Linked DNA regions of Homo sapiens: all the other regions are linked to region 2. Evidence: promoter capture Hi-C in 16 types of primary human blood cells and fetal thymus (Javierre and others, 2016). All regions are on one chromosome and are shown on one strand. Each heading gives the region's core, a stretch centred on a gene start or on the middle of the fragment in contact. The rest is flanking DNA. Distances are from core to core; before and after follow the strand shown.

Region 1 (2,791 bases), core at 135-2,634, 410 kb before region 2:
ATGTTTTGAAAGCAACTTCTAGTACTCTTTAGATGTATGGGAAAAAGTCCTCAGGTTAATTTCCTTAAGAAAAAGCGTCATGAATTAAAAGACTGCTTGTTGAAACTGAAGATCACTTTCTACTGAGTCACCAGATATTGAGCAATATGATTTATATCAATATGCCTTGTGAAATTGTCAAGTTAAAGATTGTACATATTAGATAAGAAAATTTTGTGTCCCTATAGAGTGACAAGTATCTTGAGGGTTTTCTGGAAATATTGAATTCAACAAATATCTCAGTAAAATGCAAACAACTTCTTGATGGATTTTTTAGTCTCAAACAGCCAGCCTAATTCCTTTATTAAGATTTAAGGAGAAGGAAGTAAGTGGAATTCAATTTCATATGACGCAAGCATATTTTAAATAGAGTAACCAAAACAAATAGATTCAAATGGAATCTATGCAAACCATCCTCTTTGCTTCCTTTGTGATGGACACTCCTTAGCTTCTGCGCCTTAATAAGGTAGGGTTTGTTCATTCAGTCTTTCCAAAGATAAGTGTTGGAAAATTTAGAGTTAATAAATCAGTGGATAAAAATTCAATGACTATTTCAAGAAAATAATAGAAGAAATATATCGCCACCATTCAATGTTTGTGCAACCAGTGTTTATTGAGTGCTTTTAATGGTACCTAGAGAGTAATACAGGTGGTCAAGCACAGTGGCTTATACCTGTAATCCAAGAACTTTGGGAGGCTGAGGTGGACAGATTGCTTGAGCCCAGGAGAGTAATACAGGCATTATTCCAGCTTTTACTGAGTGAATATTCTAGCATTTGTACGTAATTCTGTGCACAGGTATTCAACAAGTATTGATTGTCTCCTATGCAGTAGGGTATATGTGCTGTTTTATGCACTGTGCTAGATGCCAGGGCTACAGTGGAGGGCAAAACAGACATGGCCGCTGCCCTTAGAGAGAATGCAGTGGTAGAGCCAGACATTATTTCAATATTCATACAAATAAATGTATAATTGCAAATTGCGCTAAGAGCTGTGAAGGATAACTACAGTATAGTATGAGAAGGTAGAATAGGAGAACCTGACTTGGTTAATGAGGGGCATTTGAGTTAGGACCTAACTGGTGACTAGGATTGTTAACTAGGCCAAAATGGGGGTGGAGGCTCATTCTAGGTAAAGAGGGAAAGTTTGTGAGAAGCTGCCAGAGTGGGAAGGAGCATGGCGTTAGAATTTACTTGACTGTAGTATTGCTGTCACTCAGTATATGTATATCAAAACCTCATATGCTGTATATCTTAAATATATACAAAAATAAAGTAAACAAGACCAGTAGGTTTGGAGAAGATAGAGGGGGAGAGAGGGCACACGATTTGAAAGAGGGTAGAGGGGGCCAGGCCAGGCCATACCTTGCTGGGTTTTGGTCTTTATTCCAAGGACAATAGGAAGCCTTTGAAGGCCTTTAAGCAATGGAGTGACTGGATCAGCTTTTTCAAAATGATCCCCCCAGCTCTGGTGGAAAGAGTGGAAGAGAGGTGGGTACAGGTGGAAGCTGTGTGGTCAGCCAGGAGAGAGACATAAATAGTGGCTTGGATGAGGAGGCAAAATACCAGATATGGCCAGGATATGTATAGGTATCTGTTGAATGAATGAATAAATAAATCTAGGGTCAGGAGACTTGGAGCTTGACCTAGTTAAAAAGCTACAATTGAAAGATTTTTAGATCAACATTGATAGAGGAATAATTTTTCTTTGATTGTTTAGTTAAAGTTCAATTTAACTGAAAGGTAAAAGCCAGTTAAAATAATGCTTTATTATTTGATTTTTTTTTCTGACAAAATGAAACATAATTTAAATGATCCATAGTGATCCTAAATAGATTTTTAGTTCAGAGATAAATTATCATAAGGACATAAGATGTTTGGATATATGTGTATAGCAAGTGTTTTATGATACATATTCTACATGTTGGGAATGTAGTTTTATATGATTAAGTTTTCAGAGTGCCAATGCTTTGGAAAGTGCAGCTAAAAAGTCTCCCTGTGGACAAATTGGCAAATAATTGTGTAACCTGCTACTTCAGCTTTGTGTCTTTGGTGTTATAATATTATATTGTCCTTTAGCTCCTCAGAAATGATCTCCTCTTTAATGCAACTGTTACCTGTGTACCCTGGAGGTGACAGATAATCATGATAATGATGACTAAAACTTTCATCAGGTTCTCCTCCCTACTGAGACCTTCCTTTCCCTTGAGCAGTTCTTGTCTTCCCACTGGCCAGCGTTCAGTTCTATCTCCTTCAGCTCTGCAAGCTGTAAAAACACCTTCCATAGTCACACAGGGGAACTGAGTAAAATTCTCCTAACTTCACATCACCTGAAGGACTTTTTCTTACCCCTAGCCTCTGAGTAATAACACTGAGAAGGACTTCATTGTTGTGCTTTCCTATAACACCACTGCTGGATTCTGATTAGCCTGGATCTAATTCTGTAGTACTAATTTTTGTTCCAGGATTATCTCTATTGGATGCTGATTATATATATTTGTATTTTTTAAATGATAAACATTTATTTTATTATTTGTCAGCCTACTCAGTCATATATTAGATAGGCTAGGGAAGTTTAACATTAAAATTATCATCCAGAATCAGCACATAAGGCTGTTTAAAATGGGTATCCAGTGAAAACACCGTAAAGCACCTTGGGAGGTACTTTTTATCCAATGTAAATTGTAATATACAATGTAAAAACTGTATGAAACTTTATCATGTATTTGCCTTTAGATCATAAAAACTGAGGT
Region 2 (2,891 bases), core at 30-2,529:
AATGACCAGGTTATAATTGCTGCTTTTGATTATGCCAAAAACACAGTGAAGCAAATTCTATAATTTTTATTTACATAAAAGTCAAAGAAAAAAACAAAACTGACCTACAGGATTAAAACTTGATAGAGTGACTAGCTACCTTTGGAGATAAGTAAAAAGATATAATTTGGAGGGAATGGAATTAATTTCTATTTTGTAAACTGGTAATGGGGACTTAGATGTATTTATAATGTAATATTATATCAAGTTGGAATTCATAATTTGCACTCTTCTGAAATGAATGGTATAATTTAAAAAGTTTTAAACAATGGTAAACCTCAAAGAGGAATCAGATATCATCTCAACTCACCTAATTCCCTCACTGAAAACAGAGAGACAGAGAGAGAGAGAGAGAGAGAGACAGAGACAGAGACAGAGACAGAGACAGAGACAGAGAAATGGCAATGATTGTGCCAGTAACCTGGATTAGGGCTAGAGCCACAGCTCATATTGCTTTGCCTGGACCTCAAGCAGTAATGTCACAGTAATTCCCAGTCCCACATTCTCATGCTGGTAAGCCCCTCAGTCCCAGACAAATCAGGGTGAATGGTCACCGCAGCACGTAGATTGCTTGATGCTTTGTGAATTCCAGTGAACCCCTCCTCTTTCTACGTGTTTGCTTTGGCTCTGCTCTGCCACATAGCACACATTGTGCTGAACACCCTCTTCCCAAGAGGCTTTTATAGAACTGGAAGAGACAGGTAAAGTAGGTTGTACATAGAGAGATGCCTATCAGTCTTGAATCAGACTTTGGTGGGTGAACAGTCTTGGTCCCAAGCATGGATTCAATTCACCACTGTGAATATATCAACATCATGCTTCTCCCCACAGACACTTCCCAGTCTACATACAGCCAAAGGATGAGACTGGGCAGAGAGAACTTCCTGAGCCTCCCCAGTCACCAGGAACTATCACATGACGAGATGCTGGTCAGAGCAGGAACGAAGCTGATGATGAGACTGCCTTCCTTTTATCTGAAACAAAGTTTCTACGAGTAATTTACAATTAAGAAACAGATTAAACCCTTACTTTCCAAAGATTCATAACATTTAGGAAATGACTTCCTCTTTGACAATGCCAAACTGACTATGGAAAACAACTGTAAACAGCAAGAAAGAAAAATCCTGCTGATTGGTGGAAACTTTGGAGGCCACATGTATAAAAGGTCCAGATTGCAAGGGGTCATCAAATCCTGGGAAACTCACCTCTGAACAGAAGCCCACCCTCCACCCCTGACAACATGACCCACTGTTGCTCCCCTGGCTGTCAGCCTACCTGCTGCAGGACCACTTGCTGCAGGACTACCTGCTGGCAGCCCACCATTGTGACCACCTGCAGCAGCACACCCTGCTGCCAGCCCTCCTGCTGTGTGTCCAGCTGCTGCCAGCCTTACTGCCACCCAACTTGCTGTCAAAACACCTGCTGCAGGACCACCTGCTGCCAGCCCACCTGTGTGACCAGCTGCTGCCAGCCTTCCTGCTGCAGCACACCCTGCTACCAGCCCATCTGCTGTGGGTCCAGCTGCTGTGGCCAAACCAGCTGTGGGTCCAGCTGTGGCCAGAGCAGCTCCTGTGCACCTGTGTACTGCAGAAGAACCTGCTACCACCCCACGACTGTCTGCCTGCCTGGTTGCCTCAACCAGAGCTGTGGATCCAGCTGCTGCCAGCCCTGCTACTGCCCAGCCTGCTGTGTGTCCAGCTGCTGCCAGCATTCTTGTTGCTGAGCAGCACCACAGAGGACCATCATCCTCACACAACAACCTTCTGCTCAACTGACCTTTTTTTTCTTTTGAGACGGAGCCTCACTGTCACCCAGGCTGGAGTGCAGTAGCACGCTCTCGGCTCGCTGCAACCTCCATCTTCTGGGTTCAAGTGATTCTCCTGCCTCAGCCTCCTGAGTAGCTGGGATTACATGCCTGTGCCACCACGCCTGGCTAATTTTTTGTATTTTTAGTATTTTTAGTAGTTTTCACCATGTTGATCAGACTTGTCTGGAACTCCTGCCCTCAGGTGATCCACCTGCCTCAGCCTCCCAAAGTGCTGGGATTACAGGTGTGAGCTACCACACCCAGACCCAACTCACTTATCTTTCAGAAGACAGATTTACTTTCAAACTTTACTGATACACAGTATGCTTTCACCAATTTTTTTTATTTCTTTGCCTGTTTAAAATCTTGGGAATCAGCTTGAGGGAGGGCAGAATACTTCATCCTGATTCTTTTTTCCTTACACTTTGTGGATCATGTGCCAGCTTCATGTGTTCTCAATGTGGAGACATGGTCTCCATTCGACTCTAAAGTCAAGAGCTTCATTCTCTCCTTCTAAGAAACTTAGGTTTCTGCAACTGATCAATAATCTTTGCAATCATATTTTTGTTTTCAATTTTGTCCTCATGTTTCTTTTACCCTTCTTTCTTCTTTTCATTGTAACTTTGGGCTATGTCCCTAGTAGCAGGGATTCTTACCTATATATTTCTGAATAAATTCTGAACCATCCTTCATCTCATATGGTGTTTTATTTTACAGAATTGCTGATATGAGATTTACACACATATTGCATGCTATATGTATTATCCAATTTGATTCTGAAAACAGAGTTATTATTATGTATTATTACCTCAATTTTTCAGCTGAGAACAATTTAGTGTGTGATTTTATGTAGCTAATAAAGGACAGACTCTAGTCCAAGGTGAGAGCTTCTCTTTCTGCCCAAGAACACTTACATTTAACTCTCGGTAAAGTAGAAATGATATTGAGACTCAGCAATAGCAAGACATGCACTTGAGTTTATTTAATGTGGGAGGTATAATCTCTCATATTTGCAGACGACATTTCTGTTCACAAAGGTCTTCCC
Region 3 (2,840 bases), core at 116-2,615, 470 kb before region 2:
CAATAGCATAACCTAGTTAAATAAAAATACACCATTTTGGAATTTTATTTTAGTTAACGTTTTTCCTTAGTTGACTAATGATTTACTGAGCATCTACTTTGTGCTTGGCAGTATTCTAGGCAGGCAGAGAAATATATTGATATTTTGTCCCAGGAATATAATAACTATGTATAAGTTGATTGTAACATTATAATACAAATCCTTTGCTTCCTTTTATCTTTTAGGTGATAGTTCATTCTACTTGGGATGAAATAGAAATTTTATTTAACAAATTAAATAAATAGAAACTTTTTTCTAGAGCAGGATTTTCTTCTGTCACTTACTTTAGCCTGAAATCATCAGCAGCCAGTCTGGCATTATCAATCTGCAGAATGACATTAGCATTAGTAGTAGTGGAGGAGATAATCTAGAATAAACCAAAACAGAGAACACAACAAGTAAGTATGCTTTTATGTGATTCATTATTTCAGGAAATGAAAAAGGTTACTCAAGTTTTTGCATAAAAATTTCACCTCCTTATGTAATAATCAAAATGTTTCAAGTTTAACTTTTAAAAATTAAAGACATGGTTTTATTTATTCTCATATATTCCCCTAAATTTAGAACTACAATACTTTTTTATTCATATGCCTATGAATGTACTTCAACATAAACAATGGAACTAATAACATTTTAACTACATTAAAATTCATGAATCAAAGGGCCCATTTTTGAATAGTAGGAAGAATTGTTTATCTAAATAAATAAATACAAGTTATAACAGTCATGAAGCATTTCTTATTGTATGTCTTTTGTTAGGTATTTCTTAGTTTTAAATACTTGGGTTAGTTCCAAATCTGTGATTTCTCACCTTATTCTTAAGATCCTCAATTGTTAGGTGATATCTGCTATAGTCATGATCAAGTCCACGGCAAGATCCAGGTCCGTATTTTTCATACCAACCCTTGATTTTTCTCTCTAATTCAGCATTTGCCTCCTCCAGAGCTCGCACATTATCCAGGTAGGATGCCAAGCGGTCATTAAGATTTTGCATGGTCACCTTCTCATTTCCAGAGAGGAGTCCCCCTTCGCTTCCAGCAAAGCCAATACAAGCAGCATTTCCAAGGGCACCACCAGCATGGCTCCCACCAGGAACACTGCCCAAGCCCCCTCCCAAGGCACAGGAAAATTCACTTCCAGCAACAGAGCCACCACATGCACTGCTGCCTGCAAAGCCTGCACCTCCATTGAGGGGTCTGACAGATCCAGCTCCAGACCTTAAGCAAACATGCCTGGATCCATTAGAAAATTGGAGAGACATGGTGTTTTGAGAAATGTTCACCTTGTCTATGCAAAACTGTAATGTCCCAAGAGAACAGAATATCATGCACTGATAATTTCTTTGGGTTTTTATATATCATTATTGGGGCGTTCCTATTTGAGTTATACATGCCAAAAGCAAAATGGCATCACTTAGATTAGCATAAAATTATGTATAATTGGGTGATTTTAAAAATAATTAATGTCTAACATCCCTCGGTGTTGCTTTGGGCTATTTCTTATCTTAAATATAATAGGGTTTGTTCTATATTAAGTTTATTAATTTAACTTCTAATTTTGAGTGAGTAATCCTTTCCTTTCATCTAGACCCTAGGCATATACTGTCATTATCTGGCGCCAGGTATTATCAAATTTTTTATAAAGTTAAGTAAGATTATGATAGAGTTCTGTGAGGTACAGTAGGGTCTCAATTACCATGGAGGGGTATAAAGGACTGCTAATTACAGAAACAGATATTTTATCCCACCAGAAAAAAATGTGTTATTTAGAAAACAGAGGCTAGTGACATCTCTGTTCTTACCATGATTATAACATCTATTTATTATCTTGGACAATGACACAAATATTGACCTATTATTTTGTTTAAAATAGCATGGTTATGATGTTTGGTGCTCTATGCTAAGTGCTAAAATGAAAGACATAGTGTTAACTAAATGCAGAAGTGAAAAATGCGTGATTACAATCTTTAAGAAATCTATTGTCAGGTCCAGACAGGGGCTGGATCATGGTTAGCTTTCTGTGCTGGTCTAAAGAGTTTGTAATGAATCCTAAGTAAAAAGCAGAGGGCAAAATGATCAGGTTGAAATGAAACAAGGTGGTCAATTACAAGGTTGGAATAATGGTCCAGGTGAGAAGGATGAAGGCAGTGGGGATGCAGAGAAGATGGCTTTGAGAGCATATGGTAATATGATTGAATTTGGAGAGTAGGGAATAAGGCAGAATTGGGGATAACTCTTAGGTAATTAATTTTAGATTCTGGGAACTCATAATATTCACTGAGATGGGGAATAGAGGAGGAGGAAGACACTGAGTTTAGGTTTGGACCAACTGGATTTGAGGGGTTGCCAGAATGTTCCAGATGAAGGTGACTGATAGCAAGAATGACTGTTTAGAATATGTATACTGAACTGGAAAAATACTTGACTAGCAATGAGTAAAAGAAAATTGGAGGGTCCAGCTCTCATTTATAATGATGTTCAACTGCATATTTGGAAGTAATCCTGGTGCAGGAATAGAAAGGATGATGATCAGATTGATGTGGGTTTTGGGATTTGAAGACAGGTCCAGAAGAAGGAAATAGTGGCAAAGAAATTTCTGGTGTTCTTGAGAAAACAATTGAGGCGATTGACTGTATGATCATATAGCAAGAAGAAAGTAAAACCAGAGGGACAGATGGACTGAAGAAAAGGGCAGAGGGTGAGTCATTGGGTATCCTTATGAGGTCATGGAGCAGGCGGAGTGTGAGGAGGAGATTGATAAAGGTGAAGGATGACAGGCTAAAATTGGATAGTGGAAACCAG
Region 4 (2,802 bases), core at 103-2,602, 350 kb before region 2:
TTGGATCAGGAAAAAGGATGAGTTCGGGTTTATGTTGCCCTATAGCCAGCAGGGGGTGTTCGTGGCCTTCCTATTCCAAAAGGCCGCAGCACCCTCTCCCAGGCTCCGGGTGAAACTGGTTTGTGAGTCACCATTACCATCCTTCTTTCTCTGTTCAAATTGGCATTTTACCAAGAACAGCATTACTTCTGAGTGAGCAACAGCTGACCAATTATCTTGAAAAATATTTGGGAAGCTATACAATTTTAAAAGTGAAAAGCAAAATATATCTTCTATTTTTAACTTGTTCCCTAAACATGAATTACCTGGGGGAAAAGCAGATGCTTTTCAATCTTTTAAATGATTGCACCTATTCTAAACCATCCAGGTGTTTTTGAAATGACCCACAGTCATCTTTAATAGCATGCGAAGGGGCCAAGGCCCTCTCAACTTTAGATTTAATAGCCTGCCCCCTTCAATTGTCAGAGATATTGACAGAGATAGGCCTGACTGTTCTGCTGTAATTTCAACTCATTTTCTCCTGCTCTAATATCTATAGTACGGGATGGACTTTTTTTTTTTCTTTTCTGTAGAGGCCAGGTCATAAATATTTAGGCTGTGTGGGCTGGAGAGACTGTTGCAACTACTCAACTCTGCTGTCCTTGTGCAAGAGCAGCTGTAGACAATATGCAAACAAACGTTCATGACTGTGTCCTAATAAACTTTATTTGTAATTTGGCCACGCCCTATCTTATTGATAGCCCTCCAAAACGTCAGTATCTTCCATATATCTGTTATTTTATGTTGTTTATAAACTCAAACTCTTCTCCGATTAAGAGGAAAATAATCGAATCTGAAAGTCCCTCAGGTTCAACTCCTTTCCCAATGCCTGGTCCCCCTTATAACACTCTTGACAAGCATCTTTGCCCACTGCTCGGAACTCTCATGCTTTGTGTCTTCCCTGCAACACAAGCAGTGGCCCCGAAGAGCAGACAGCGTGATACAAATGCACAGAAGTTTTTAAGGAGATAGCACAACAATTTAGAAACTAAGGCTGCTGGAATGATGAGCTTTTAATCTTTTCATTCATCGCAGGGTTTAATCCATATTTGAAAAGAAAGATGCCACAGTATAAAGCTGACAGGCACTGACTGGCCTGAAATATCTCAGGAAAATCTGGTTTCAGATTTTTCTAGGAGTTGATCCAAGAACATTTTTCTTTCTGCCTTTTGATCTGTTGAAAGATCCACAAGATACTTGGATGCCTTGAAGACATAAATGCCAGTACAGAAATAAACTCTGACGAGTTGTCTTGTAAAGGGAGCCAGCTCTTAGAGAAGGGATCATTGTAAGGGTAGGAACTGAAACTTTTTTGTCTACTACCTGACATTCTCAAACCCTTCTTTCCTTTGTACTTTTTCTGTGAACAGATGGTTTCGTCCAGCTTGGAGTGGGTTTAGGGGAGACTGAGAAAACAAGACGGCTGCCTGCAGTTTTAGTCTCTCTTTACCCATCTTAAACTTTTTCTTCCCCTCTCCATTTTTGAGAGCAAGAGGTTACATGCTCCCTTTCCTCCTGTAGAAGAAACATTTAGCTGGGGCTGACACAATGGCGAGGACATGAGAAATGACCACAGGAGAAGCCCTGGAGGCAGAAGACTAGGTCTTTGCCCCTTTTACAGTGAGATAGTTTTATATAAATATCAGAGGTTACTGGAGGCACCCAAACAAAATTGAGGACAGGAAGCAAATATCTGAGAGGCTCCCAAACCTCGATGTACTGTGGGACCCAAACGAGCACGTGAATCCCTTCTAGATATCCTTTGGATCCTTTAAGAGTAGCACAGGCGGGGCGCGACGTTTCACGGCTGTAATCCCAACACTTTGGGAGGCCGAGGCGGGCGGATCACGGGGTCAAGAGATCGAGACCATCCTGGCCTACGTGGTGAAACCCCGTCTCTACTAAAGATACAAAAATTAGCTAGGCATGGTGTCATGTGCCTGTAGTCCCAGCTACTCGGGAGGCTGAGGCAGGAGAATTGCTTGAACCTGGGAGGCAGAGGTTGCAGCGAGCCGAGATCGTGACACTGCACTCCAGCCTGGCGACAGAGCGAAACTCTGTCTCAAACAAACAAATAAATAAATAAATAAAGAGTAGCAGATACCACTTATAAAGTTTTATTATAAAGAATTATTGGAGTTGGCTATGAATTCTCCTCCTTACTCACGTCTGGTGGGGCAAAACGGGGAGGATCAGATACTATGAAGACAAAGATACTGGAAATAGATCAAAGCCTTGAATTCCCAGCCCCAGACTCTACCCACCATGATCCCTACCTGCAGGGGTCTGGGTTCCTCTTGCCCAGCCTGCTCAATCTCTGACCCCCTAGCATGGGTCTCTGGCTTGCTCAGAGGTGCAGGCTCCCAGCTCCCCTTCTCCAGTCGCCTGAAGACTCAGTGGTTCCTCTCTGAAGGATGTAGTTTTAACCTTTGTTTGCTGTAAAAACATATAGCAGGCAAGTGCTTGTCACAAGGGGACTTATTTCTTCCTTCTGCTTCATGTGATGGGGAGGGTCCGGCTGTGGATATCTGCTGTGCTAAGACAGCCACAGTGTGGTCTAAGACAGAGCCTGGTCTTGGCCACTCTGATATCTGGCTGACTGAGAGACAGTGTGGATGGGTGGAAGAGGGCAGTCTTGCATGCTGTCATCTCCTCCCTAGGGCCCTATTGACCTTTGGTGGATCCACACTTGAGGTGTGGACAGAGGAGAGAGACAGAGAATGCCTTGTCTCCTGTAGAAAGGCCTCTTCTGGAAACTTCCAA

The links. Contacts are between HindIII fragments. The CHiCAGO score rates a contact against its expected background, and 5 or more counts as called.
Region 1: a fragment that was not itself captured here is called in contact with the fragment with the promoter of KRTAP9-6 in region 2 in 1 of 17 cell types (monocytes); the score reaches 6.1 in monocytes.
Region 3: the fragment with the promoter of KRT28 here is called in contact with the fragment with the promoter of KRTAP9-6 in region 2 in 3 of 17 cell types (neutrophils, M1 macrophages and M2 macrophages); the score reaches 5.4 in neutrophils.
Region 4: a contact is called between a fragment that was not itself captured here and the fragment with the promoter of KRTAP9-6 in region 2, in 6 of 17 cell types (total B cells, M1 macrophages, M2 macrophages and 3 more). The highest score is 10.2, in total B cells.

Annotation. Positions count from the first base shown.
Region 1 is chr17:40,850,356-40,853,146 of GRCh38, forward strand. LOC105371777 (a long non-coding RNA gene) reads left to right here and starts at 443. Exons shown (of 3, transcript XR_934754.3): 1 at 443-505. The HindIII fragment of the contact is 2,913 bases long and covers 1-2,791 here.
Region 2 is chr17:41,264,099-41,266,989 of GRCh38, forward strand. KRTAP9-6 (keratin associated protein 9-6) reads left to right here and starts at 1,280. Exons shown (of 1, transcript NM_001277331.1): 1 at 1,280-1,762. The coding sequence starts at 1,280. The coding sequence ends at 1,762. The HindIII fragment of the contact is 5,841 bases long and covers 1-2,891 here.
Region 3 is chr17:40,798,594-40,801,433 of GRCh38, forward strand. It overlaps KRT28 (keratin 28), which reads right to left and starts at 1,366. Exons shown (of 8, transcript NM_181535.3): 1 at 851-1,366; 2 at 324-406. The coding sequence starts at 1,300. LOC105371776 (a long non-coding RNA gene) reads left to right here and starts at 2,741. Exons shown (of 4, transcript XR_934753.2): 1 at 2,741-2,840. RefSeq lists an enhancer at 1-544. The HindIII fragment of the contact is 3,919 bases long and covers 1-2,840 here.
Region 4 is chr17:40,909,413-40,912,214 of GRCh38, forward strand. All of the region lies in intron 1 of LOC105371777 (a long non-coding RNA gene), which reads left to right. Among named protein-coding and RNA genes, the nearest start is that of KRT20, 26 kb to the left of the region's middle. The HindIII fragment of the contact is 4,061 bases long and covers 1-2,802 here.